2 separate regions of the Homo sapiens genome follow, and region 1 is linked to region 2. The links are contacts of gene promoters, found by promoter capture Hi-C in human tissues and cell types (Jung and others, 2019). All regions are on one chromosome and are shown on one strand. Each heading gives the region's core, a stretch centred on a gene start or on the middle of the fragment in contact. The rest is flanking DNA. Distances are from core to core; before and after follow the strand shown. Region 1 overlaps PALM2AKAP2 (PALM2 and AKAP2 fusion). Region 2 holds the start of PTPN3 (protein tyrosine phosphatase non-receptor type 3).

The links. The method cuts DNA at HindIII sites, captures the fragments that hold promoters and counts their contacts. A contact is called where the count stands out against the background at its distance.
Region 1: a fragment that was not itself captured here is called in contact with the fragment with the promoter of PTPN3 in region 2 in 1 of the 25 tissues and cell types used here (dorsolateral prefrontal cortex).

The regions. Positions count from the first base shown.
Region 1 is chr9:110,153,114-110,160,063 of GRCh38, reverse strand. PALM2AKAP2 (PALM2 and AKAP2 fusion) reads right to left here. Exons shown (of 11, transcript NM_007203.5): 9 at 3,567-3,745. LOC124902244 (a long non-coding RNA gene) reads right to left here. Exons shown (of 2, transcript XR_007061727.1): 1 at 6,311-6,950; 2 at 3,861-4,984. Among named protein-coding and RNA genes, the nearest start is that of C9orf152, 52 kb to the left of the region's middle. RefSeq lists a silencer at 3,022-3,071. The HindIII fragment of the contact is 9,360 bases long and covers 1-6,950 here.
Region 2 is chr9:109,494,874-109,501,964 of GRCh38, reverse strand. It overlaps PTPN3 (protein tyrosine phosphatase non-receptor type 3), which reads left to right and starts at 3,658. Exons shown (of 26, transcript NM_002829.4): 1 at 3,658-3,746. The HindIII fragment of the contact is 6,343 bases long and covers 1,421-7,091 here.

The DNA of each region.
Region 1 (6,950 bases), core at 1,462-3,961, 660 kb before region 2:
AATCCTCCTGCCCTCAGAATTAGCCAAGAGGTCCATTAATAAGTGAGGCTGGAGATACTCATTGGTGACTCCAATATACAGGACAAAGAAATCAGCCCAGGTGGGTGAAGACTGTGGCAACTAAAGGGAGTACTTTGCTCAAGTTCTGAGCTAGTAACAAATATGGCTGGTTGGGGACAACCTTTGGATAACACCACTCCCTGACTCCCATAAGCCAGGGGCCTCTCTGCATATGACTTTTTATAAAGTGGAAAACTGGAGAGAGCAGGGCCCTGAGCTGAGTCCCTGTGGACAGGACCCCAGAGGCCACCACACCCCTGATGGGGGCTCGGGGGACACTGAACTTGTTTTGATGGCAAAGATCAGTTTTTCTCACTCAGCAAAACTTCAGCCGTAGCTACATTCTATCTTTCTCCTTCTGTCTTTCACTCTCCTCGATACCATTGTGTCTAACATATCACACTTTATACACATTCCAATGATCAGCGCCTGTCTTGTTTTTAACTCTGCCTTCTCCTTAAAAAGAATAAAAAATAAGAATTATTTTTGCTCAATTCACAAATAACTGTTACTTTCGATGGGCAAACACATGGTTGTGTTCTAATCACGCGACAGGCATTGATTCTCAGGTGTGGTTTATCATCTCCAAAACGGCATGCCAAAATGCTGCCAAGTGGCTTACTGGAAAAAATATTGGCAAATGGAGGTGCCAGGGGTGATGCTGCATAACATGGGGAGATGCTGGGTGTGTAGGTGTGAGCCACTGAGGTGCTTAGAGGGTGGAGAGTCTAAGAAGCCATGTTTCTCTGTGAGAATAGTGTATGTAAATGGAGGCTAGAGACCAGAATTACTTTACCTTTAAGAGAATTAACTTTATGCTTCTACGGATAGGTAAGCCAGTTACACAACTCATCCCCCCAGCAATCCATCTGCTCTCTATTACTATCCTTCTGGTATTAAAGAAAAAGAAAAAATGGAAAAGGGGCCACAGATTGGTTAGGAAAAAAATGAATGTTTGTTCATCCCTACAGGTAAACTTCAACACATTCACCAGTGATTGACACAGATACAGGAGAAAAGGTCCCCTAAATTGGAAGGGCTAGGAGAAGGCTCTCATTTGAAGCCTGACTGATGATCATATCTTTGCTTTAGAAGCAATCTGAATTTGTTGTTTTAGATTTGGGTCTCTTAAATGAGCATATAGTGGATTGGTAGATTTTGTCCTGATCCTAAGAATTTTCAACAACAGCAAACTTGGTTCTGTTGTAATAGCAATAACAGTGCAAAACATTTGGCTTTGAATCCAAGATCCAGGGATATTAACAGCTTAATTAGTTAGGTCTCTTTCTTTTTCAAAATGTTTATTTACTGGAAAATATAGAGACAGGAGGCTGCCTCTTTGATTTGTAAGTGAAGGGCAATCAGCATATTAAAACGCTGATTCCAAGCAGCTTCATTCATGCAGAGGAAAAACTCAACCTGGTTGGCATTTGTTAGGTGGCTGCCAGAGTGTCAGCGTGTGCACAAAAGAGCTTCCAGCCCTCTGCCTTTACGAAATGAGTGAGAACTGCCTCTACCCTTCTGTATGGAGTATTTTTCCCTATCATCTGCACTCCAACACAAAAGACATACACAAGTGACAAGTAGAGTGTGTTCAGCAAACACTCGCGTGGGTCACATGCTAAGTGGTTCTACTTGTTCTTCCCCATCCACATCAGAGTGTGGGGCACCCACTTGGCTAAATTCTACCAAAACTGCTGATGTATAGAGCAGAGTCACTGGGAGAAAAGAAACCAGACACCTAGAGCACCAAGTTTCAAAATGATTTAACTTTCAGAAAATTCTTAAGGCAAACTTTATCCTTTGAAGTGGGGCTTCAAAGAAGGGCTGGTGAAAGTGACTGAGTAGCCAGGGAAAAATCCTGCAGGCTCACGAAAGGAGCTGCTGGCTCCCCTACAGTGAGGTTCAGCAGTGGAAATGTCTGCAGCAGCTACCCAGGGCCGGGCATCATCCCACTGTCTAATACAGTGAAGAGCCCAGTAGAATAGCTGCAGCCTAATACAGCAGCTGAGCCAGTGCTCCACGCAGTTCAGGTGTAAACAAAAGGGAAAGCCTGGGAGATGCCAAGTGAGAAGCCAGGCTGCCAGATATCCATTTGCTTTCTTCCTTTCTTTACCGCCATATATTTTGAAAGCAACTTTCAGCATCTGGGCTTCAACTCCAGAAATCCTTTAACTTAGCCAGCTAGGATATAAAAGGCAATAAAACAGCAGGGAATTCTTACTGTGAACTTCATAGCATTCAAGTTTAAGGTGACCAGATGGTTTATCACCCAAACTGGGACACTTTCAAGAGTGAAAGGCAGGCTGGGTGCAGTGGCTCATGTCTGTAATCCCAGCACTTTAGGAGGCTGGGGTGGGAGTATCCCTTGAGCTCAGGAGTTGAAGAACAGTCTGAGCAACATAATGAGACCTCCTTTCTACAAAAAAGTTAAAAAATAAGCCAGGTATGGTGGCATACGCGTGTGGTCCCAGCTATTCAGGAGGCTGAGGCGGGAGGATTGCCTGAACCCAGGAGGTCGAGGCTGCAATGAGCCATGATTACATCAATGCATTCCAGCCTGGGTGACAGAGACAGACCCTGTCTCAACAACAACAACAACAACAACAACAAAAGAGTTGAAGGGGATATTAATAACCACAACACCACAACAGGCATAAGCCAGGACTGTCTCAGGTAAACTCAGTAGGATCCTCAACCAACCCAAGCTATCTGTGACTTAAGTGCAGTCAGGGGAGGAGGTGATGACTTCAATATGTGCTAAGAGACTGGTGCCAGAAGACCCACAGGAGGTTGGCATGAACCCTGAGGCTGATCTCCAGGCTCCTGGGACTGTGTAGAGCAACAGTTCCTATGTCTCTAACCGGAGAAAGAAACCACAGAGCATGTGACTTCCTTCACAGTTAATTTGAACGTTATGTGCAAAGTTCCGAGGGCTTGGGTGTAGCAGAGTAGCCATGTGGTTTTCAACTGTCATTTTCACTGGCTCTTTGCTTTCAAGCTATGCACATGGGCTTGTTAACAGCCCCAAACACACTCAGTCTTTTAAGCACTGTAACATTGTTAGGGATTGCCTAGAGTGTCGGCTTTGAAGGAACAGCATCTTCATCCTTTTCTAGAGAAATAAAATCTCTACTGGGCAATGGTAGAAATCAGCTCCCAGGTGCATAGGGATGATTTCAGGGCACTTGCAACCTTCTCCCTGCGTGGCCCTTGCATGCTGTCTTTCTATGCACCAAACATCTTACACACTAGCCTTGCTGGTCGACTCCAGCTATACTTGGCAGCAAAGGACCAGCTCCCTGCAAGATCAACAATTTTTTTTTGAAACAGGCAAAAACCCAAACCCAGTTCCAGGCATGTGAAACCACATATATGAAAACTGATACTGGAACCCTAATGCTGACCAGACAACGACATACACATTTGTGCCTGAACTGGAATGCCACACGCCACACCGATGGCCGCGCTCAGAGAAGTGAAAGAGGAAAGGAGGAAAAACTTACACTACTATCATCCATTCTCTCGCGCCTTTTAGATTTGTGTGTCTCATAGTCTTCCATGAGGGTCTGCATCAGATTCTTGGGCCGCTGGGTTCCGGCAGCCTCTTCAGGGGCTAAGTCAGGCTGCAAGCTGGGGCCTTCAGTGGTGGGGGATGGAGGAGGTTTGACTTTCTCTATTTTCCCTGAAACAACACGAAGAAAATACCCTTTCTAAGCTTGTCTGCTCATGACTGCTTTTAGAAAGAAAACTGGCAAATAAAAGAGCAACAACCTCTGACACAGAGAGTGGTACCAGAATGATGGTTAAGTGTAGGCCATTTTATTATATTACAGGGATCAAAGCACTTAAGGTTAATGCACAAACCCATCCAAAGATCTCAAGGACACCAAGTTCCAAAAAGTCAGTTAGATCAAACAGGCACAGCACGCATTTTGCAAATATATGTTGGACAGACCGACAGTGGCTCCAGTTGTTTTGAGATATGTATTCTATCACAGATCACAGAATTAGACTGTCAGAGGTGGTGGCACCTTGGAGACTCACAGACCCACTTCTTAACAGATGAAAGCGCTTGAGGCTCTGCCAAGGGAAGGCTGTACTCAAGTCATAGGGAGCCAGTGATGGTACCCAGGCCTCCTGCTTTCCTCACCAGGGTCTATCCTCTATAGCAGAGGAAGTCAATTGTCTGCTGACCTGCCCAGGCTTTTTGTGCAGACAGCCCAGTGTTATAAAACCTTTGAATAAGGATGAAGTTTGTTCTTCTCAGTTTGCCCCGGTCTTACACTGGCCAGCTTTATTCATTTACCTCACCTGCTGGGGTCCTGAAACATTGGGGTTTGAGGCCTCCCAGACCTTAAGAAGTGTACACCAACAAAGGCAATGGAAAAGGTGCACACCAGCCTTGGGAATGAGGAGATTTTAGCTCTCGCAATGTCCTCCAAGAATCCTCAGGATGGAGAGATGAGGTCAGTGATTAATTCAACAGTGGTGTGGTGACTCTACGCACCCTCACCAAGACCATTTCCATCCCTCCCTCCCAAGAAATGCCTGGCCCTGGCTTCTGGCCCTTCATGGGGTGGGTTTATTGACACAGAGCCCCAAATGCACTTCTGAGAAGTATCTTCAAGTATAACAATTATGATTTTTCCAATTATGCCCTTTGTGGTTGATGCGGCTAAAACCTGTGAACAAGGAATGTGGATAAAACACACAAGATAAATGGGGCTTGCATGGCTCCGTTTGGGAGGGGAAAGGGCCATTTGACCTCTTCCAGTTCCAAGCCGAAGGGGACTCACCTTTCTTCATCTTACATCCCAGGCTTCTAACTTGGCAACTGCCTGATGTAGCAGGAATCACAAGTGAAGCCTGGTGTCCACATTTCCATATGGGCTGCTTAGCCCTTTACTGGCACAACCTCCTTCTGATGAGAGATACAAAGGCCTGGAGTCCAGGAAACCCAGGTTTTTAACTCCTGCTCTTCCAGTACTTGGCTACGTGACTGACTATAGATCATCGTTTCATATTCCCATTTCAATCGTGGGCTGATCACTTAAATTCTCCTAGCTTTAACTGCCATAGCGGTTAAATGGGAATTTTGGAAGAAGTTATCTTTGTGGTCTCTTCTAACTCAAACGTTTTGCTATTCTATCAAATATGTTTGGCAGGATACACCCTTCTTGATTTTTTTTAAGGTATTTAGCTGTTACACTTGGGGATTAGGTGGAAAATAGGTTTTAATATACAGAAAAGGGCACTGCATTTCATGGCCACATTACATTAATAACAGTGAAATTTGTTGCTTTGATCTAAATTACCCAGATAACTGAAAAGTCTTTTGATATTAACAGTACAATAATAAGTATTTCAAAATCTCCAAGTTCACTAGAAACAGTTCCTATTTTTTATTACGGAAATTAGGGAATGCTATAATGACCCCTATAAACATTATAAACATCACCCAGAGTAAACATTTATCAAGATTTTAGCATAATTGGCTCTTCCTTCCTTCCTTAGACTTGCTGAATTATTTTAAACCAATCCCAGACCTCAGGTCACCTCACTCCTGCACACTTAGTATGTATCTCTGAAAATTCCGATTGACTTTTTAATTGAAGGCTTAAGAAACAATATAGCACAGTGGTGAGCGTGTAAGCTCTGGAGCCAGCCGGTTTGGGCTTGAATCCATGACTTGGCAGCCAAATCACTTTGGGCAAGTTACTTACTCTTTTGATATCTTAGTTTCCTCATCAGTAAAATGGGTATGATGATAAGGGTACCTACCCTCAGATAGTTATTATGAGGACAAAGTTAATATTTATAAGGTTAATATTCAGAACAGAAAGCATCTAATGATTCTAGCTACCACTTAATTGGAATCTCAAAGAATAATGTGACTATAGGGTGAGATGAACAATTTCATGCATATTCTGCATAAAATTTTTGCATCTCTTCTGGGACCAGAAATAGACACCAATTACCAGGTTAATTTTCATCATTTTCCAGTTGACCTCTCAAGTGTCCAGATCACTTCCCACCAGCCACTCTTCCAGAGTTAAACACCTAGAAAGCACAGCCTATATTCATTGCTTCTAGCTTCTCCCTTTCACACACAGCACAGTGGAACTCCTGTTTATATTTCTGTGAAGGCCATTTTCACATACTGACTTAAATCTTATCTGGCTATTGAAGCTTTTGTCTTCTCAATTAAGCTATAATGTCATCCTGAGGACAGGGGGGTATGTTTCACCTGTCTATGAATCCCCTTAATTCATTTGAATGCAAACTCCATTAGGGTAGAGCCTTGCCTGTCTGATCATTGCCAGATCCCAGCAGTAGCTGTGGTACATGGCACGAGGTAGGCAATTCATGTTTGTTGAGTAATCAGTAAGTCCATTATGAAATATATATAACAACCACAAGTAAATGCTTATGGATTGGGACAGAATCTCCCATAGAGAATCAGAGGAAAGGGCTTAAATGCCTTCACCAAAATATATGAATTAAAACATTTTAGGCTTACAGAATCACAGACTCAATGGCTTTGGAGTAACAAGCGGATTTATATACCACTTCTTTTGTAGGCTTCATGTCATTTGAGCCTTGCAACAACCCTGGAATGTAGTTAGGGTGGATGTCGTGACACCTGGATGTCATGACCACAGAGGCTCAGATGCCAACTCCAGCCCAAGTTACATAAGACAGTGACAGTCACAGTCTGGAGCCCAAACCCAGTGTTGATGATGGCTGAATTAAATGATGGGATGTATGCAGAAAGAATGTTGTAAAGAGGGTGAAGGATTACTATAGAGAAGTGGACAGCCATTTAACATCAAAGACATTTCCTGCTTATTGATGATTTCATCCCTTGAGCAAGTTTTTCCAGTTCT
Region 2 (7,091 bases), core at 2,409-4,908:
AGAGAGGTGACTATATTTTTGAGCTTCGCAGGAGGAGGGCTGCTCTTACGGTCCTGGCTTTCTCTCAGCAAACATCATCAGGACTATCAGCTCTCTGTCATTTCATCACAGAAAAGTCCCTGAGGAGTCCATGGACCAGGTGGTTCCATCATGTTGTGATCCTGCCTCCAAAGTGAATGCCCAGAGACGATAATCTATGTGGGTCCTCTCTGGACCAGTCGATCTGGGACTGAGTACAGCTCTATTCCCAATTGGGCTTTAATTTGCTCTACACTTGGCTGAGTTCAACAATAGCCTAAGAAGATTATGTGCCCATTCAAAAGCCCCATTTACGTAAGGTTTGGGAGCTTATGATATAAGATCAACTGTCATTGGTAATAATAACCTTATGTCACTCCAGATGCAACAGCTTAAAAGGATAGACTTTAACATTTTGGCCCCAAGAATAAAACAGTAACAGGAGACTAGAACATTTAAAGGTAATCTGTAGCCTACAAACACATCAAAGGGTAGAGAAAATAAGGCAAAAAACCCTACAAAATTAGATGACATATAGCTTCTCTTATCATCAATACATGGTAATCTACTACACAGAGAGGCAGTGTGTCCTAAAACCTAACACCCTGACTTTGAGATCAGATTGACTTGTGTTCAAATCCTCACCCCCTTAACAGCTGTGAACAGCCCCTAGATTGTTTTCTCTTCTGTAAAACTGAGCTAAAACACCCACTCTGTAGAGTGATGGTAAGGATTAAAGAGAGAATATATATAAAATATTCATCGTACTTGAGCTTGATAATAGCAGTTACTGTAACTGGATATACACAAAACAAGAATTTTTAATTTGATCTTTTAAATGCTTATTATTGCAAACATGTCATTGTGACATTAATAAACTTTTAAAAAACACCCAAACTTACTACTCCAAAAAAATGACTAGTTAATTTTCCCATATTTCCTTCCAGTCTTGGTGAATGTGTCAACACCATGTTTATACAATCTATTTGTGTTTTTAGCTTTTTTTTTTTTTTTTATTTGAGACAGAATCTCGCTCTGTCATACAGGCTGAAGTACAAATGGTGCCATCACAACTCACTGCAGCCTTGACCTTCCTGGCTCAAGAGATCCTCCCACCTCAGCCTCCCATGTAGCTGAGGCCACAGGTGCATGCCACCACACCTGGATAAGTTTTTTTTTGTAAAGATGGGGTCTTGCTATGTTGCCCAGGCTGGTCCTGAACTCTTGGGCTTAAGCTACCTTCTCACCTGGATCTCCCAAAGTGCTGGGATTACAGGCATGAGCCACCTCACCCGACCTGTTTTCTGCGGTTTTTTTTTTTTTCATTTAACATTGTACCGTGTTTTCCCTGTTGCAACATGGTCTTTTTAACTTAGTGTAAGATAGTTATTATTTCAACTAATATACCATAACCTAATTAATCATCCCTCTGTTATTGAGTACTTAGTTTGTTTCCAATTTGGGGAGTATTCTTTCATTTTGTTCCTGCTTCTGTTATGGTGATTTAAAACGCATGATTTTTAAAATATTTAGGTCTTTCCTTTAGGTGTAAGCATGTTCCTAGCTCAAAGTTGAGGGCATCGTTTAAGCTAACAGCTGTTAGCTGTGGGAAAAGAAAAGGTAATTTCAGTCTAGGGGTCAGCAGATTAAGACAACTTCGAAAATTCACACATCCTCCGTTGACCTCGGTTTCCTCATCTCAGCAGTTGGCAAACTGGCATGAGGATGACGGCTGATTTTGGTAGGCACTCAAGAAATGGATCTTTAAGGTGGTCTAAACACGTTCACGTTCCTTATTTCACTCAACTTCCACTCGGGTGCCCAGATCGAAGCGTAGGTATTCACAATGGTTGAAGCACAGAGAGGATAAGGCAGTGGGGAAAGGACAGAGAATGCCTCCTGCTGAGCCCGGGGGCGCTGGGTGGAGCTCTGCGGGGGGCGTCGCCTGCCCCTCCAGGGGGCTCCTCCTTCCGGGGGCTCCGGCCCCGCCCGGCTCCGAGCATGCCCAGTGCGCTCCCCGCCCGTCCGAGTGGTGCTGAGCGGGCGCCGCGGCTCCAGGTTTTGCTGGCGACTCGAGGCCGGGCCGGGCCGGGCGGGGCGCGGGCGGTCCTGCCCCTGGACTCCGGGCTCCGTCGGAAATCCCCCCGACGCGATGCACGGGCGGCACCCGCTGCAGCGGCGCTATCCCGGGACGTGCGACTCCGGGACAAGGACCGAAATGAGGTTCCAGGGGCTGCCGAGGCCTCAGTCTATCCCTGGAACGACTGCCCCCAGGACCTGGCACCCAGGCCCGACTGGAGGGTTCCAACCATCTCTGCATCCCTTCGTTCACATATTCAACAAATAATGTTTGAGCGCCTAGTGTGTGCCAGACAGTGTTGCAGGGGGGTCACTGCAGTAAAGACAAGCAGAGCTACAGCCCCAAAGCTGACATTTAGGAGGGAAATACAACATGAGAATTAAACAAATCGGAGGAAAAGCCAAAGTGACCAACCTCATCTGCTCCTCTGCCTCCTTGCCGTTCCCTAAGCGGTCCGGCGCTCTTTTGGGTCTTGGCACTGGCTGTTCCCTCGGCCAGGAATGCTCTTCCCTGCTTATCTGCGTGGCTGAAATACCACTATCACCTTCTCAGTGTCACCCAATCAGACCGTCCATCAGCTCAAGGGCCCTATCCGACCGCTTCACTGAAAATTCACTGCTTACCTCCAGCCCCAAATCTCCTGACCCTGCTCTTTTTCCTCTTAGAACTTATCACTTTCTAATATAATGCATAGTTTGCTAATTTGCTGTTTATCTGTTACCTGTCCCTCTTTCCCCAAACTCCACTGGGGGACAGAATTTTTGTCTATTTGTTCCCCACGCGAGAAAAACCAGAATAGGTGCTCAATAAATATTTGCTGAAAATGGATAAATCACTGTTAAATGCTATGAAGAAAACAGAGTACACGGAGTGGTCAGGAGCAGAGGGCTAATCGAGGAAGGTGGTCAGGAAAGGCCTCTCTGAGGAGGGGACCTATGTACAATGAGAAGGCGCCGGCCACGTGAAAAGCTGGGCAAGAACGTCCCACAGAGGGAAAGGCGGGCGCCAATGTCCTGAGGTTAGTGAAGTTCGAGTGTTTGATGGACAGAAAGGCGCTCTAGGATCCGCAGGAAGGCAGGTGTGAGATGAGACGGAGGTGGGAAGCAGGAGCACAGATCAGGTAGGGGTCCCACGAGCCTTGGGGAGGTTTAACCAGGGAAGCTTACTAGTGCCAAGGGACGAGCACTGGACTGGAAGTCAGCGGGACCTCAGCTCAACCGCGCACCCGTCGTGCAAGACTCCTCATTTCAAAGTTTCTTTGGGCGCCGACTTCTTGCCTTCCCTAGGCATGAAATCACTGAGGGCCTGGCACACAGTAGGTGCCCAGTCATGGCTGTGGAACGAATGGCTGCATGCATGCGCGAGGGAACTCAGGACCTGCCCGGAGCTCGGCGGAGAGCCCCGGTGCCCCTAGGAGATGCGTCGGGGCGCGCCAGCCCGGGGCGGGGGCGGGAGAACACCGCAGGCCAGCCCGGACGCCCGCCCCCCGCCCGGCGCGCGGGCCCGTCGCGGCCAGCCCGGCCGGCGGGAACCGCCCGCGGGCGGCACTGGGCATGCTCAGACGGCGGCCAGGTCGCGCCGCGAGCGAGCTTCCGCGCCGCCCGCACGCGCGACCTACCTGGGCGCTCCGCGCCCCCGGATGCTGCAGGTACGGGCCCGTGCGACCCCAGCGGGCCGGGGGCAGGGTGCGGGGCTGCCGGGGGCCGGGGTCGCGCTCGGCGCCACCCCGCCCCCACCCGTCCCTGGGGCGCGCGGCGGACGCGCGGGCGGGCTGGCGGGTGCGGCTGCACCGGGATCCCCGCACCACGTCGGGGCGGGGAGGGGGCGCCCCGCTGCGCTCACCTGGCGGGGCCGGGGCGGGAGGGCGCGGGCGGGGCGCCGGGTGGGGCTCGGCCGGGGCGGGCTGGCGGCCGGGACGCGGCGCCGGAGCGTGGGCGTGCGCTCCAGCCGGGCAGGGGCGGGCGCAACCCGCGGAGCCCGTGCGTCCGGCACCTCCGGAGGACCCCGTGCCGCCGCGACCCCGGCTCGGGGCTCCGAGGGGGCACACAGCCCGCGGGGAGCTAGCCGAGAGCGGCTGCCAGCGCTCGGCTCCCAGGGCGAATCCGCCTCTCGGCTTTCAAAGATGGCATTTCCTGGGCCTGGCACGAAACTCCAGAGCCAATAAATCCTCCCCGTTCCGCGGACGATATGGAATGATTTATCAGGTACCTGCGGTGAGACAGCTGCAGATGGGGGAGTGTATGTGAGAGTGCCCAGCCCCCCCGAAATTCCCATTTTCAGCTACCTAAACTTACTGAGAAGTTGCGGTTGCCTTAAAAATTCATGGGAAGTTGAGACAACTTGACACCTGGGTTTTCCAAGCTGGTGGAAAGAGCTTGTGACTTGGAAACTGGAGACCTCCGTTCAAGTTGGGCTCCCCCTTGGCCAGCTGGTGACCTTGGCAAGTTGTTTAACCTCTCTGGTCCTCAGTTTCCTCCCTTGCAATCAGCTGGTAATAATGCCCACCTCGCTGGGTTGTTGAGTGGATTAAGTGGGATAAATTATGTGGAGGTGTTTGGCACCGTGCCCGGCACAAAGCTAGCAAGCAGTTGGCGTGATGTGAATTTAATTCGTTTAGAGACCCTCGTGGCTCTCATTTCAGGAGGAAATTAGAATTAGGAAACCATCTTCAGGGCCTAGTGGTGGAGTGACAGACCCTGTCTCTGTGCCCAGGAGAACTTCTGCCGAAGTCAAGGCCTTCGGAAAAACAATTTAGCCGAATTGTAATCAGAGAGCATCTCCTTTAAAAGCAGTTTTATACATTCAGAAACTCCAGAAGTTGGCAGTTGGCTTCACTTACAAAAGAGCTGTTTTGCAAGATGATCCATCTTGCAAATGTTTAAGCAGATGATGGGAGAAAGTAAAGCCTGCTTAGGAAGATTTCTGTTTTAAAAAGCTCCCAAATCCAACTTTAAGCGATTATTTAGATCAGGGTTTCTCAGCCTTGCACTATTGACATTTAGGGTTTGATAATTCTTTGTGTCCTGGGCATTGTAGGGTTTAGAAGCATCCCTGGTCTGTAGATTCCAGTAGCAATTCCTGTTCCCCAGTTGTTCCAATCAAAAATGCCTCCAGTATTGTCAGATGTCCCCTAGGGAGCAAAATGCCACCCCAGCACCCCTTTAGAACCACCAATTTAATTCTTGCTTTCTGTCATTAGCCCGAGTTGTTTGAGAATTTCATCTTGTGCTTTTGTAATAACTAACCTTTGCATAGCCTTATAGAACTTACAGAGTACATTCACCTGTATCGTCTTATTTAATCTTTACAACTCCCTTGTGAGACTGGTGTCACTCCCATTTTACAGATGAGGACATGGAGGCTCTGAGCAGCCAATTACACAGTATGTGGTAGAGCTGGGGTGTAACCCAAGTCTCCTGGTTCCAAGGGCAGGTCTTTTTCTTCTGCATCAAGCTGCCTGTCCCTTTGTTGTATGGAGGCTTTGATATGGATGACTTTCCGGATGATTAAATCAAGATGTGAAGTATATTGGAAGTTGGAAACTTTTCTGAGATTGACTAGTTGAAAATTAACAACAGTAAGCTATTATCTGACAGAGTAGGCCATTCTAGTTAAATATTCTAGTTTATAGCGAGCTCCCATAAATCCCACATGCAGTTAATGGAATACCAATTTGCAGAGAATTAGAGTAGAATAGAACGTGCCTAATACTCTGTATTGATCCTGCGTTTTCTCTGGTGATTTGCCATCTCCTAAAAAGGACTCATATATGCAAATTAGACATTAGCTGGGGAATATAAAAGGTCAAGTTACTGAAGGCATTTCAGAGTAGCTGAGGCATTTATTGAACTTCTGTATGGCAGATGTAGTGCTGAGTGGGGATGTGGGGTGCACCCCAGAGAATCCAGGTTGCCTGCATCCACTTCCGTGCAGGAAAGGGCAGGCCCTGGTCAGGCCAGACAGGTGGTGGGCCCTCAGACAGCTTGGAGCAGGAGAAAAAGCCCAAGTTACCATGGAAGCAGATTCAGGATCCCTTACCATATCATCAGTCATGTCTCTGACCCCTCGATTCATCTTTTATCATACAGAAGATACTCTGGTAGTTTTAAGCATTCTCATTCAAGTCTCAGAGACCTGGTTAGGGAGGCAAGGTCAGAGACAAATCTTATCCCTGGAAAAAGCTGGGGTTCCGAGGTGGTAATTGGCTTCAGAGAATTGAGAGCAACGCTTTGTTGGCTGTGAACTGGAAGGTTTCACACACAGTGGGGTTTGTTGCTGCCAAACCCCACCCCATTCCCCACCTTGCAGATAAGGAAACTGAGCTGGCAAAGGTAGAGTGGGGCCAGGAGCAAGAGGGACCAATTTTGACCTTCTGAACTACAGGTCCAGGCACACAAGAGACATTTTCTAGGACAGGCATAACCTACCAGAAGGGCTCAGCTTTGGGGATGGGAGGGAGTGAGAAGACATGGCACCCTGCCTTTCCCCAACCCTCCGGGTTTGTGGTGGTTGAGAAAAGACCAGCAATTTGTGGTCCCTACATCTTTTCCCAGGAGAGCTCACCTTCCAGCATTGCGGTCCTGGAAAGCAGGGACAATGCCTCTTTATCTTTTCCCAAGATCTGTTGTAGAAGCTGGAATGCTGAAGGCACCCAGCACATACCCTGGTCTGGAAGGGCTGGTGGGGGTGCAGTAGCCTACCCAGCATCAGCTCTTCATTCCAACTCTAATAGAGACAGGAGGAGACCAGGTCAGTGTCCACACTGCTCTTGGCTGGGTCCAGGTGACCTCAGAGCCTGATCTTATAGATGTCTTCTTTCCTCTGGCCGAGAAGGACCTGAGAAGTGCTTGGTAAGCCCCTGGCTGAAAACTGATTTGGTAATGGGTTCTAAGACCCAGAAATGTTGCATCTCCAGAGCTTCTGCTTGTGTGTGCACCTGAAGCTTCCCACTGCCCCCAGGTTAACTTGTTATTCCAAGACCAGGTGTGAGCAC